3 separate regions of the Homo sapiens genome follow, and regions 1 and 3 are each linked to region 2. The links are contacts of gene promoters, found by promoter capture Hi-C in human tissues and cell types (Jung and others, 2019). All regions are on one chromosome and are shown on one strand. Each heading gives the region's core, a stretch centred on a gene start or on the middle of the fragment in contact. The rest is flanking DNA. Distances are from core to core; before and after follow the strand shown. Region 1 holds the start of EIF2B1 (eukaryotic translation initiation factor 2B subunit alpha). Region 2 overlaps MPHOSPH9 (M-phase phosphoprotein 9). Region 3 holds the start of CCDC62 (coiled-coil domain containing 62).

Region 1 (3,591 bases), core at 197-2,696, 460 kb after region 2:
CCTGGGTGACAGAGTGAGGCTCCGTCTCTTTAAAAAAAAAAAAAAAGAAAAGAAAAAAAAGACTATCCTAAGTCCCAGAGTGTTAACAGATGACTCTCTATATACCTTTATCTCTCTTCAAGAACTCCAGCAACGTCCGGATGGCAGCCACTGCTGAGGCCATGTCAGGATCTTCTTTCATCTGAGACTTAAAGTATTCAATTAACTCTGGAAAAAGGGAAAAAAGTGATTCACCTAATTCATTTAGCAGCCTATAAGGCAAGAGAGCTTGTTAATGACTGTTGACTTTAAGAAGCAAACAATTTAAAAAATACTTTCTTTTTAGGGTATTTGGTTTCAGGGATGCAATAAATGTTGATGGGAATAGAGAAAATACCACTTTGCTGTTTGCAAGAGCTCTTTTTTATTTTGAAAAAGCTACTGGTGGCCGGGCGCGGTGGCTCACGCCTGTAATCCCAGCACTTTGGGAGTCCGAGGCGGGCGGATCACGAGGTCAGGAGATCGAGACCATCCCGGCTAAAACGGTGAAACCCCGTCTCTACTAAAAATACAAAAAATTAGCCGGGCGTAGTGGCGGGCGCCTGTAGTCCCAGCTACTTGGGAGGCTGAGGCAGGAGAATGGCGTGAACCCGGGAGGCGGAGCTTGCAGTGAGCCGAGACTGCGCCACTGCACTCCAGCCTGGGTGACAGAGCGAGACTCCGTCTCAAAAAAAAAAAAAAAAAAGCTACTGGTGTGCAAGGCCTAAAAATTAAGCCCGAGTAAATGATGATGAAAAGTCATTCTCTCTTCAGCCTCTTTGGTCCTAAAATCTGAGAGGATCCCAGAGTCAACCATCTTGCCAATTTCTCCTGCACCCCTCCAGACAGTCTATGCTAATACATGTCTATTCACATACACATATATGTTACAAATATTATACATGGAGTTCCACCCACTCCCCTTTATTTCTTTACATGAAAAGTGTATTAGTTTGCCCTTGTTTTTCACTTAATAACCATACTAGATGAGCACATCAAATATGCCTTATTCATTCTAATTTTAATGACAGATCCAACAAGGCAGGAAGGAGACTGGCACTGGGAAGGAGCGTATGTGTGGGAGGGATGCCTGCAGATACTGCCAGGGCGCATCCCTGAAAACAAGAGCAGCGCGAGGGATTTAGTTGTGACTCTGGAAACACAACCAGCGGAGCAGCCTGAAATTCAAAAGAAATCTCTTCGGGAGCTCAGCCTGGATGTGAGAGGTTGGGGGGACCCCTGAACGGCGCTGCTGTAGCCTAGCAGCCCTGGCCTGTCTTGATTTACCCTTGTCGTCCATGGCGTCCTCCTGCTGCGGAGCCCCAGGGGACCCGAGCCGCCCGCGCTGTCTCGAACGGGTCCGCCGGCCGCGCCGCCTGCGAGCCAGTCTGACAGCGCGCTGCACACCTCCGCACCCCACTTCCGGCGCACTTCCGTACCCCTCTTCCGGCGCACTCCCCGCACTCCACTTCCGCAGATTAGGGGGCTGGCACGAGTCACAGCACCTCGTGCGTCACTTGGCGGCGCCGGACGTTGGGCTGCGCAGGATTTGAGACGCTCCCCTGACCACCACTTGCTCTGCGCTGAGGTGCTGGGACAGCCATGGTTTCAGACGGTGAGGACCCTGCAGGGCGGGACTTCGACTCCGGGGCTCGGCTGTCTCGGTCCGGCTACGACTGGCCAGATGGAATGTGTCTTTTGGGCTGGATAGAATCCGTTTGGTCTTTAGAGGAGTAGCCAAGGCATTCAGTCATTCATTCAGTAAATAGTTTTGGATCGCCTCCTGTGTACAGGCATTATTTTCTGGATTTTAGCAGAGATCGTGACAGACAGGGGCCTTAGTGGAGGTTACAGTCTACTGGGTGAAACAGATGACAATAAATAAAAATAATTTCGGCCGGGTCGCACCCCGGTGGATTAGGCCTGTAATCCCAGCACTTTGGGAGGCCGAGGAGGGAGAATCGCTTGAAGCCGGGAGTTCGAGACCTGCCTGGGCAACACAGCCAGACCCCATCTCTACAAAAAAAATGAAATATTAGCCGGGCGTGGTAGCGCGTGTCTGTGGTCCCAGCTACGCGGGAGGCTGAGGCGGGAGAATCACTTGAGCCCAGGAATTCGAGGCTTCAGTGAGCTATTATGGCAGTACTGCACCCAGCATGGCCGACAGGGCATGACCTCGTCAATAAAAAATTAAAAAATAAATTATTTTTCAAAGGATGAAAAGAGCTATGAAGATGATGTAACAGTACGGTCCTAGTTACAATAGTACATTGTGACTAGGATTGAGGAGGAGCTGTTTTAGATAGGGGCCTAGGAAAAGTGCAGGATATTGAAACCGACTTGAATGATTATGTGAAGTTCTGGGGGAAGTGCACTTTAAGTGCATGGGCCCTGTGGCAGATTGAGCCACCAAGTTACACTGAGAAGGGAGAAATGGAGAGCTTGCGGGTAGAGGATGGTGGGGAGACTCATTCATACATTAAACTACCACATACAGAGTCAGATGTCTTGAAGATTTAAAAGGAGGCTAGAGGGATGAGATCAGAGAACCAGCCAGTTTCAGGTCATGCAGGGCCTTATTGGCCGTGATAGAGAAGTTGGCCTTTATTTTTAGGTGCAATACAAAGACATTGTAGAGTTTTAAGCCAGAAAGTGTTATGATCTGGTTTGCAATTTTAAAAGATCACTGTGGCTGTTGTGTGGAAAATGGACTGTGGGGAGCAAGAATAGAGATAGGGGAGTCCTTTCAGGAACTGTAATAATTGTCCATCCTCTCTTAATTGATGTGAAACCATACCACAACCCTGTGAGGGAGGCAGGCCTGGCATTGCTCCTGTCTACAAATGAGGTAGCGAACTAAAGAAGGAAATTCACAGGGTCATTGCATGTGTATAGATGCACACCTTTCTTTACAGGCAACGCTTTTTCTGTCTGGCAGACACAGTTGTATTAAGTGCTTCTGTCCTAGGTGCTTTGTTGTGTGATTTACACATTTTTTTGTTTTGTTTTTCTATTAAAAAAGAAAAAAAGTGGCTGGGCACAGTGGCTCACGCCTGTAATCCCAGCATTTTGGAAGGCCAAGGTGGGTGGATCACTTGAGGTCGGGAGTTCGAGACCAGCCTGGCCAACATGGTGAAACCCCGTCTCTGCTCAAAATACAAAAAAATTAACCGGACAAGGTGGCGCACACCTATAATCCCAGCTACTCAGGAGGCTGAGGCAGGAAAATTGCTTGAACCCAGGAGGCAGAGGTTGCAGTGAGCCAAGATCGTGCCACTGCACTCCAGCTTGGGCGACAGAGCAAGTCTCCGTCGCAAAAAAAAAAAAAAAAAAAAGGTAGAGATAAGGTCTCACTGTTTTGCCCAGGCTGGTCTCAAACTCCTGGGCTGAAGCAATCTTCCTGCCTCGACCTCCCAAAGTGTTGGGATTACAGGCGTGAGCCACTACACCAGTTCTGATTTACACACATTATTTTATCCTAGGATTAGCAAATTCCATCATTTTTTAAGAAGTCCACAGTCTTAAGTGGGCAGGACTGGGACGAGAGATCAGAAGCACAACTAACTGTAAAAT
Region 2 (3,318 bases), core at 211-2,710:
TGTTATACAATTTTCTTTCTTTTTTTTTTTTTGAGACAGAGTCTCACTTTCTCACCCAGGCTGGAATGCAGTGGTGTAATCTTGGCTCACTGGAACCTCCGCCTTCCAGGTTCAAGCGATTCTCCTGCCTCAGCCTCCTGAGTAACTGGGACTACAGGCACATGCCACCATACCCAGCTAATTTTTGTATTTTTAATAGAGATGGGGTTTTGCCATGTTGGCCAGGCTGGTCTCGAACTCCTGACCTCAGGTGATCCACCTGCCTTGGCCTCCCAAAGTGCTGGGATTACAGGTGTGGGCCACCACGCCCAGTCCGTCATACAATTTTCATGTGTCATGAAATATTCTTTTTTCCCAAACATGTAAGAATGTAGAAACCATTCTTTACTCAGGGGCCTCACAAAAACAGGTAGTTCATGCCACATGTGGCCCCACAGGCTGGGGTCTGCCAACTCGGTCTCTGCCACCTGCATTGTCATGATGCAGTGTCATGCTTGAGTGTATGACAGTATTTTCCATATTCCAGCTGTTAGACTTTCAGGTTTTCATTCACTTTTTTTTTTTTTTTTTTTTTTTTTTTTGAGACAGAGCGGTGCTCTGTCACCCAGGCTGGAGTGCAGTGGTGCGATCTTGGCTCACTGCAACCTCCGCCTCCCAGGTTGAAGTGATTCCTCAGCCTCCCGAGTAGCTGGGATTACAGGCCTGCACCACTATGCCTGGCTTATTTTTGTATTTTTAGTAGAGATGGAGTTTCGCCATGTTGGCCAGGCTGGTCTCAAACTCCTGACCTCAAGTGATCCACCTGCCTTGGCCTCCCAAAGTGCTGGGATTAAAGGCGTGAGCCACCACGCCCAGCCTGCATTCACTCGAGTACCCTCTGAATGGGCTTCTACTGTTATCACTCTATCCAGACTGTTCACTAAGCATTAGCCTCCAGCTTGCAAAGACCTTGCAGTCTTCACCTTGATCTCTCAAGCAGCAATGTGAGATTATGACATATATTATACATCAGTTTTCATTCACAATTCCTGGCTCATAACTTTCATATCCCTTGTTGCAGTCAACAGAATCTCTAACCTTCTCCTGTCTTCCTTTTACCTTACCAGGGTAGGACTCTAATCTGATTATGGGTCATAAGACTCTTGTTCGAATCAGAGAGGGTCCTGCCTCATCCTCTGGGGGAAGGAATGCTGCACAAAGAGGCCAAGAAGGATCTGAACAGAAAGGCCTTGCTGGGTTTAGATCACATCCTTTCTGTCCAATCACATTTCAACACAGTCGTCCAAGCTTCAATCAGGCCTGTCCAATGAAACCTCCATAAAATGCCCAAAAGGACAGGGCTCCAGAGCTTCTGGAGAGCTGAACAAGAGCTCATCCACGCACTGAGGGGGCATCACACCCCAGCTCTACTGGGAAAGAAACTCCTGTGCTGGAGATCCTTCCAGACCTTACTCTGTATCTCTTCAACTGGTTGTTTATTTGTATCCTTTAAAATATCATCTGTAATAAGTTGGTAAACATGATTCTCTGAGTTCTATAAGCCACTCTGGCAAATTAATCAAACCCAAAGAGAGGGCTGTGGGAACCTCAACTTGAAGCCAGTTGGTTAGACGTTTTGGAGGCCTGGACTTGCAAATGGTGTCTGAAATGGGAAGTCTTGGGGACTGAGCCCTCAGCTTATGGGATCTGACCCTATCTCTGGGTAGATAGTATCAGAGATGAATGGGAGGCCACCCAGCTAGGTCCCATGAAGAACTGATTGCTCGCTTGCTGGTGAGGAGAAATGTCACACATTCTGGGTCACAAAAGTCTTCTGAGTCTATTTTTGTTGTGCTGGTGTGAGAGCACAGGGAAACACAAGTTGGGTTTTGCACTCAATACCGGTGGCTGCTTGTTTTCCTCTAGCTTTTTGGCAGCGCTTTCTCGGGTTCCTTTGCCAGCTCTCTCTATCCAACACCAGTGTCAGAGTTCTTGCCCCAGGCCTACTTCTCACTAAACACACTCAGTTTACATCCATTCTACAACTTTACGCACCATCTAGAAAGAGACGACTCCAATTTTTTTTTTTTTTTGAGACGGAGTCTTGCTCAGTTGCCCAGGCTGGAATGCAGTGGCGCGATCTTGGCTCCCTGCAAGCTCCGCCTCCCGGGTTCACGCCATTCTCCTGCCTCAGTCTCCTGAGTAGCTGGGACTACAGGCGCCCGCCACCACACCCGGCTAATTTTTTGTATTTTTAGTAGAGATGGGGTTTCACCATGTTAGCCAGGATGGTCTCGATCTCCTGACCTCGTGATCCGCCCATCTCGGCCTCCCAAAGTGCTGGGATTACAGGCGTGAGCCACCGCACCCGGCATGACTCCAAAATTTATCATACCATCCTAAAACCTTATTTTTGAGCTCCAAACTCATTTATAATTGCCTATTTGATTTCCACTTAGAATCGATATGAATCTCAAACAAAAATATTCAAGATGGAAATTCTGATCTCTTCCCTAAGTTCAACACATGAACTAGGTACCTTTAGTTGTTTGAGAGAGAAACCAAGGAATTATTCCAACACCTCCCTTTCTTACCTTGCCATCCAATTCACAACCATATCCTATAGATCCTACCTCTAGAATCTCTCCCGAAGAGTCTCTATTGTCTATTTCTGTGACCACCACCTAGCTAACACCACCTCTCTCCTAGCACTGCACCAGACTAACTAGTCTCCTGCTTCCATTCTTTCCTTCTCCATCTTCTCATGGCAGGTACATTAATAAAAATTAGATAACATCATTTTACCACATAAAAACCTTCAAAGGCTTCCCAATGGACTTAGGGCAAGATCTAACTTTTTTTTTTTTTTCTGAGACGGAGTCTTGCTCTGTCTCCCAGGCTGGAGTGCAGTGGCGCAATCTCGACTCACTGCAAGCTCCGCCTCCCGGGTTCACACCATTCTCCTGCCTCAGCCTCCGGAGTAGCTGGGACTACAGGCGCCAGCCACCGCGCCCGGCTAATTTTTTTTGTATTTTTTAGTAGAGACAGGGTTTCATCGTGTTAGCCAGGATGGTCTCGATCTCCTGACCTTGTGATCCGCCCGCCTCGGCCTCCCAAACTGCTGGGATTACAGGCGTGAGCCACGGCGCCCAGCCAAGATCCAACTCTTGATCACGGCTTAGAAAGCTATAAATGGTCAATCTCTGATTTCATCTAGGGCAACTTTGCCTCTTGCTGGAAATATTCAGGCCACACTAACCTCCCTTAGGCTCTTCAAATATGCTAAGCTCTTTCCTACCTGAGGACTTACCAAGGCAATTTCTCTGCATGGACCACCTC
Region 3 (3,647 bases), core at 561-3,060, 400 kb before region 2:
AGGCTGGAGTGAGGTGGCGCAGTCTTGGCTCACTGTAACCTCCATCTCCTGCATTCAAGCGATTCTCCTGCCTCAGCCTTCCGAGTAGCTGGGACTATGGGTGCGCACCACCACACGTGGCTAGTTTTTGTTTGTTTGTTTGTTTGTTTGATTTTTAGTAGAGACAGGGTTTCGTTGTATTGGCTAGGCTGGTCTCAAACTTCTAATCTCATGATCCATCCTCCTCGGCCTCTCAAAGTGCTGGGATTACAGGCGTGAGCCACCACGTCTGGCCTGATTTTTGTTTTTTTGAGTCAAGGTCTCACTCTCGATCGGACTGGAATGCAGTGGCATGATCACAGCTCATTGGAGCCGCCATCTCCCAGCTCAAGTCAGCCTCGTGAGTAGCTGAGACCACAGGAGTGCACCACCACGCCCAGTTTAAAAAAAAATTTATTTTTTGGCCAGGTGCGGTAGCTCACACCTGTAATCCCAGCACTTTGGGAGGCTGAAGTGGGTGGGTCAACTGAGGTCAGGAGTTCGCGACCAGCCTGGCCAAGGTAGTGAAACCCATCTCTACTAAAAATACAACAAAGGTGGCGTGGTGGCGGGCACCTGTAATCCCAGCTACTCGGGAGGCTGAGGCAGGAGATTTGCTTGAGGCCAGAGGCAGAGTTTGCAGTGAGCCGAGATTGTGCCATTGCACTCCAGCTCAGGCAACAAGAGCCAGACTCCATCTCAAAAAAAAAAAAAAAAAAAGTTTTTTAGAGGTGGGTGTCACCATGTTGCTCAGGCTGGTCTCAAACTCCTGAACGCAACAGATCCTCCTACATTGGCCTCCCAAAGTGCTGGGGTTACAGGCCACTGCGCCCAGCTTTCTTGATTTTAAATTCTAAGACATTGCTTTGGTCTCCCAAACATGAGCCTATCAGTAAAGCTTCAAAATAAGAAATCTTAATTTTGTTTTTCCATTTTCAGATTGTATTTTTTGAACACAAGGGCATGTTTTGGCATTTCATATTCAACCAAAAAGTAAAGTTGAAACCCTGTAAGACCGACCGTATTTAGTAATTGTGTTGCTGTCTGATGGGTTAAGCATTCAGGGATGGGCAGCCGGGGCTGAAGTGTGATAAGCCTTATTTTTTCCTAGTCCCGTTCCCACATCTTAGGAAGAGTGAAAGGGGGATGAAGAGGTGACTATGGAAGAACAGGTGAAAAAGCTTAGATTCAACCCAGAATATCGTAGATTTTGTCATGACAAAGTACCGTGGTTCTCCTCATTGCTTTTCAGGAGCTCCCAAGAGTAAATTTCCCCCTCTTCATCTGTGATTCTTGGTTTAAAGTATCAAAGGTGCTAGGGTAGCCCGCAACTGTTATCCCCGAGGGCTGGGCTCTGCCTCCACGCATTCGAGTGTCAGGTCCTGTTCTGGGAGCCAGCTACACAGGAGCGAGCACGGCCGAGCTCACGGTTATTAGGGGGAAGATGGAAGATAGGGAAGTGAGCAACTCAAATGTCATAAACCAGAGTGCTGGGGGCGGCGCAGCAGCCTTTATTGACTTCTTCATTCTCTGGGTAGTGGTGAACAGCCGGTTCTTTCAGGCCTTCCAGCGCCGGAGCCTCGGGCGTGGGCAAAAAGCGTCCATACGCAGCCTGAGCCACTTGGGAGCCCCCAGTTTCCGAGGCAGAAGAACAGTGCCCACCAGCGCAGCGGGGCTGCGGCCCGGAAACCCTGGCGGGGAGCCCCGAGCCCCGGCGGGCGCACGCCGCGTGGGCACCAGGCAGGCGGTTGGAGTACGGGGCGGGGGTCGGCCGAGGGCGCGGGGCCCCGGGGCTCCGGGCTCGCCCCCGCCGCTCGGGGCAGGCGCGCCGATGGCGTTTCTGAGGTGACGCCGCCCACACCGGGCTTCTCCGGGGGCGGAGGAAACACCTATGAACCCTCCGGCAGCCTTCCTTGCCGGGCGCCAGGTAAGCAGCGGTTCCGGGCGCGGCGGGGCGCCGCGGGAACGGTGCACATTGGTCGAAATCTATTGCTTCTCAAGAACGGTGTCTACTTAAAATGTGAAACAGGCCGGGCGCGGTGGCTCACGCCTGTAATCCCAGCGCTTTGGGAGGCGGAGGCGGGCGGATCACGAGGTCAGGAGATCGAGACCATCCTGGCTAACACAGTGAAACCCCGTCTCTACTAAAAATAAAAAAAAAAAAATTAGCCGGGCGTGGCGGCGGGCGCCTGTAATCCCAGCTACTCGGGAGGCTGAGGCAGGAGAATGGCGTGAACCCGGGAGGCAGAGCTTGCAGTGAGCCGAGATCGCGCCACTGCACTCCAGCCTGGGCGACAGAGCGAGACTCCGTCTCAAAAAAAAAAAAAAAAAAAAAAAGTGAAACAATACACTAGAGGAAAACGGCGTCACGACCGTTTCCTTAACCCAATAACACCTTGTTATTCAGCCCGGGCCACAGAGTAGCGCGTACCCGGTGCTTACTGTTTAAGGAGGACGATTGGCGTCTGGGGAGCTGCTTTCCCATTTACCTCTCAGGGTGTCCTTAATTTACACAACCTGGCGAGTAGAGGAAGGAGCTCTCACAACTCCACTGTACCAAAAAGTCTGGAAGTGGGCTTGCCCAAGGTTCGCGTCCATCAGTGTAAGACGACCTGCCTTTGTGTACTCGGCTTACTGCCTGTTTTCCTGGAGTGGAATATGTGCTCCTTGCCTGGAGGTCTGTGGCCCAGCCACTGGCGCTCAATAAATTATTTGTTGAGTGCATGAATGAAGGGCTAACCCAACACTGGAATTCAAGCCTTGGGACTTGAAATCCCTTGACTCCAAATTCCATTTTCCTTGTTAAGACTAGCAACTGTAATTTATTCATCATTCTTATTTATTTATTTTTGAGACAGGGTCTGGCTCTGTCCCCAGGGCTGGAGTACAGTGACGCAATGTCGGCTTACTGCAGCCTCTGCTTCCCGAGTTCAAGCAATCCTCCCGCCTCAGCCTCCCAAATAGCTGGGACTACAGGCTCCCACCACCATGCCGAGCTAATTTTTGTGTTTTTAGTAGAGACAGGGTTTCGCCATGTTGGCCAGGCTGGTCTCGAACTCCCGACCTCAGGTGATCTGCCCACCTCGGCCTTCCAAAGTGCTGGGATTACAGGCGTGAGCCACTGAGCCCAACCTCATTATTCTTGTTTATTTACAAATCTTACTTTTCAAAAAGCAGTAAGGAGGTACAAAGGGCCTCTGTTGAACCTTTAATTACTGTCTTTAAGGTGGAACTCTATTAAAGTAACACTTTTAGTTGTTTATTTCATAGGCAGGGACAGCACCATGATTTGAAATGTGGTTTACAGTGTTAATGAGAGCTGATGTTTGTTGAGTGATTACAACGGGCCAGGCTTTGTGCTCAGTACTTTACAGAGTTTGTCTTGTTTAATCTTCACCACTCCAAGATGTTAAAATGCAGTTGCTATCGTTTTACAGGTGAGGAAACTAATGCTTAGAGAAGTTAAGTAACTTGCCCAAGGTTATGTAGCCACTAAGTGGCTAATTCTGGGATCACAATTTGGTCAGGCCAACTTGTTAGATTTTAAAATGCTGTATACTTCAAAGAAATTATTGTATTAATAGATAATATTGTTAGATATAAAAATGGCATCATGGTTATATAGGAAA

The links. The method cuts DNA at HindIII sites, captures the fragments that hold promoters and counts their contacts. A contact is called where the count stands out against the background at its distance.
Region 1: the fragment with the promoter of EIF2B1 here is called in contact with a fragment that was not itself captured in region 2 in 1 of the 25 tissues and cell types used here (spleen).
Region 3: the fragment with the promoter of CCDC62 here is called in contact with a fragment that was not itself captured in region 2 in 1 of the 25 tissues and cell types used here (spleen).

Annotation. Positions count from the first base shown.
Region 1 is chr12:123,632,240-123,635,830 of GRCh38, forward strand. It overlaps EIF2B1 (eukaryotic translation initiation factor 2B subunit alpha), which reads right to left and starts at 1,447. Exons shown (of 9, transcript NM_001414.4): 1 at 1,306-1,447; 2 at 106-207. The coding sequence starts at 1,318. It overlaps GTF2H3 (general transcription factor IIH subunit 3), which reads left to right and starts at 1,590. Exons shown (of 13, transcript NM_001516.5): 1 at 1,590-1,633. The coding sequence starts at 1,621. RefSeq lists an enhancer at 1,474-1,663. The HindIII fragment of the contact is 12,225 bases long and covers 1-3,591 here.
Region 2 is chr12:123,172,319-123,175,636 of GRCh38, forward strand. All of the region lies in intron 16 of MPHOSPH9 (M-phase phosphoprotein 9), which reads right to left. Among named protein-coding and RNA genes, the nearest start is that of PITPNM2, 23 kb to the left of the region's middle. RefSeq lists a silencer at 851-1,051. The HindIII fragment of the contact is 6,614 bases long and covers 1-3,318 here.
Region 3 is chr12:122,772,762-122,776,408 of GRCh38, forward strand. CCDC62 (coiled-coil domain containing 62) reads left to right here and starts at 1,811. Exons shown (of 13, transcript NM_201435.5): 1 at 1,811-1,945. The coding sequence starts at 1,910. RefSeq lists silencers at 1,649-1,858, 2,381-2,675 and enhancers at 1,958-2,651, 2,039-2,178. The HindIII fragment of the contact is 10,219 bases long and covers 1-3,647 here.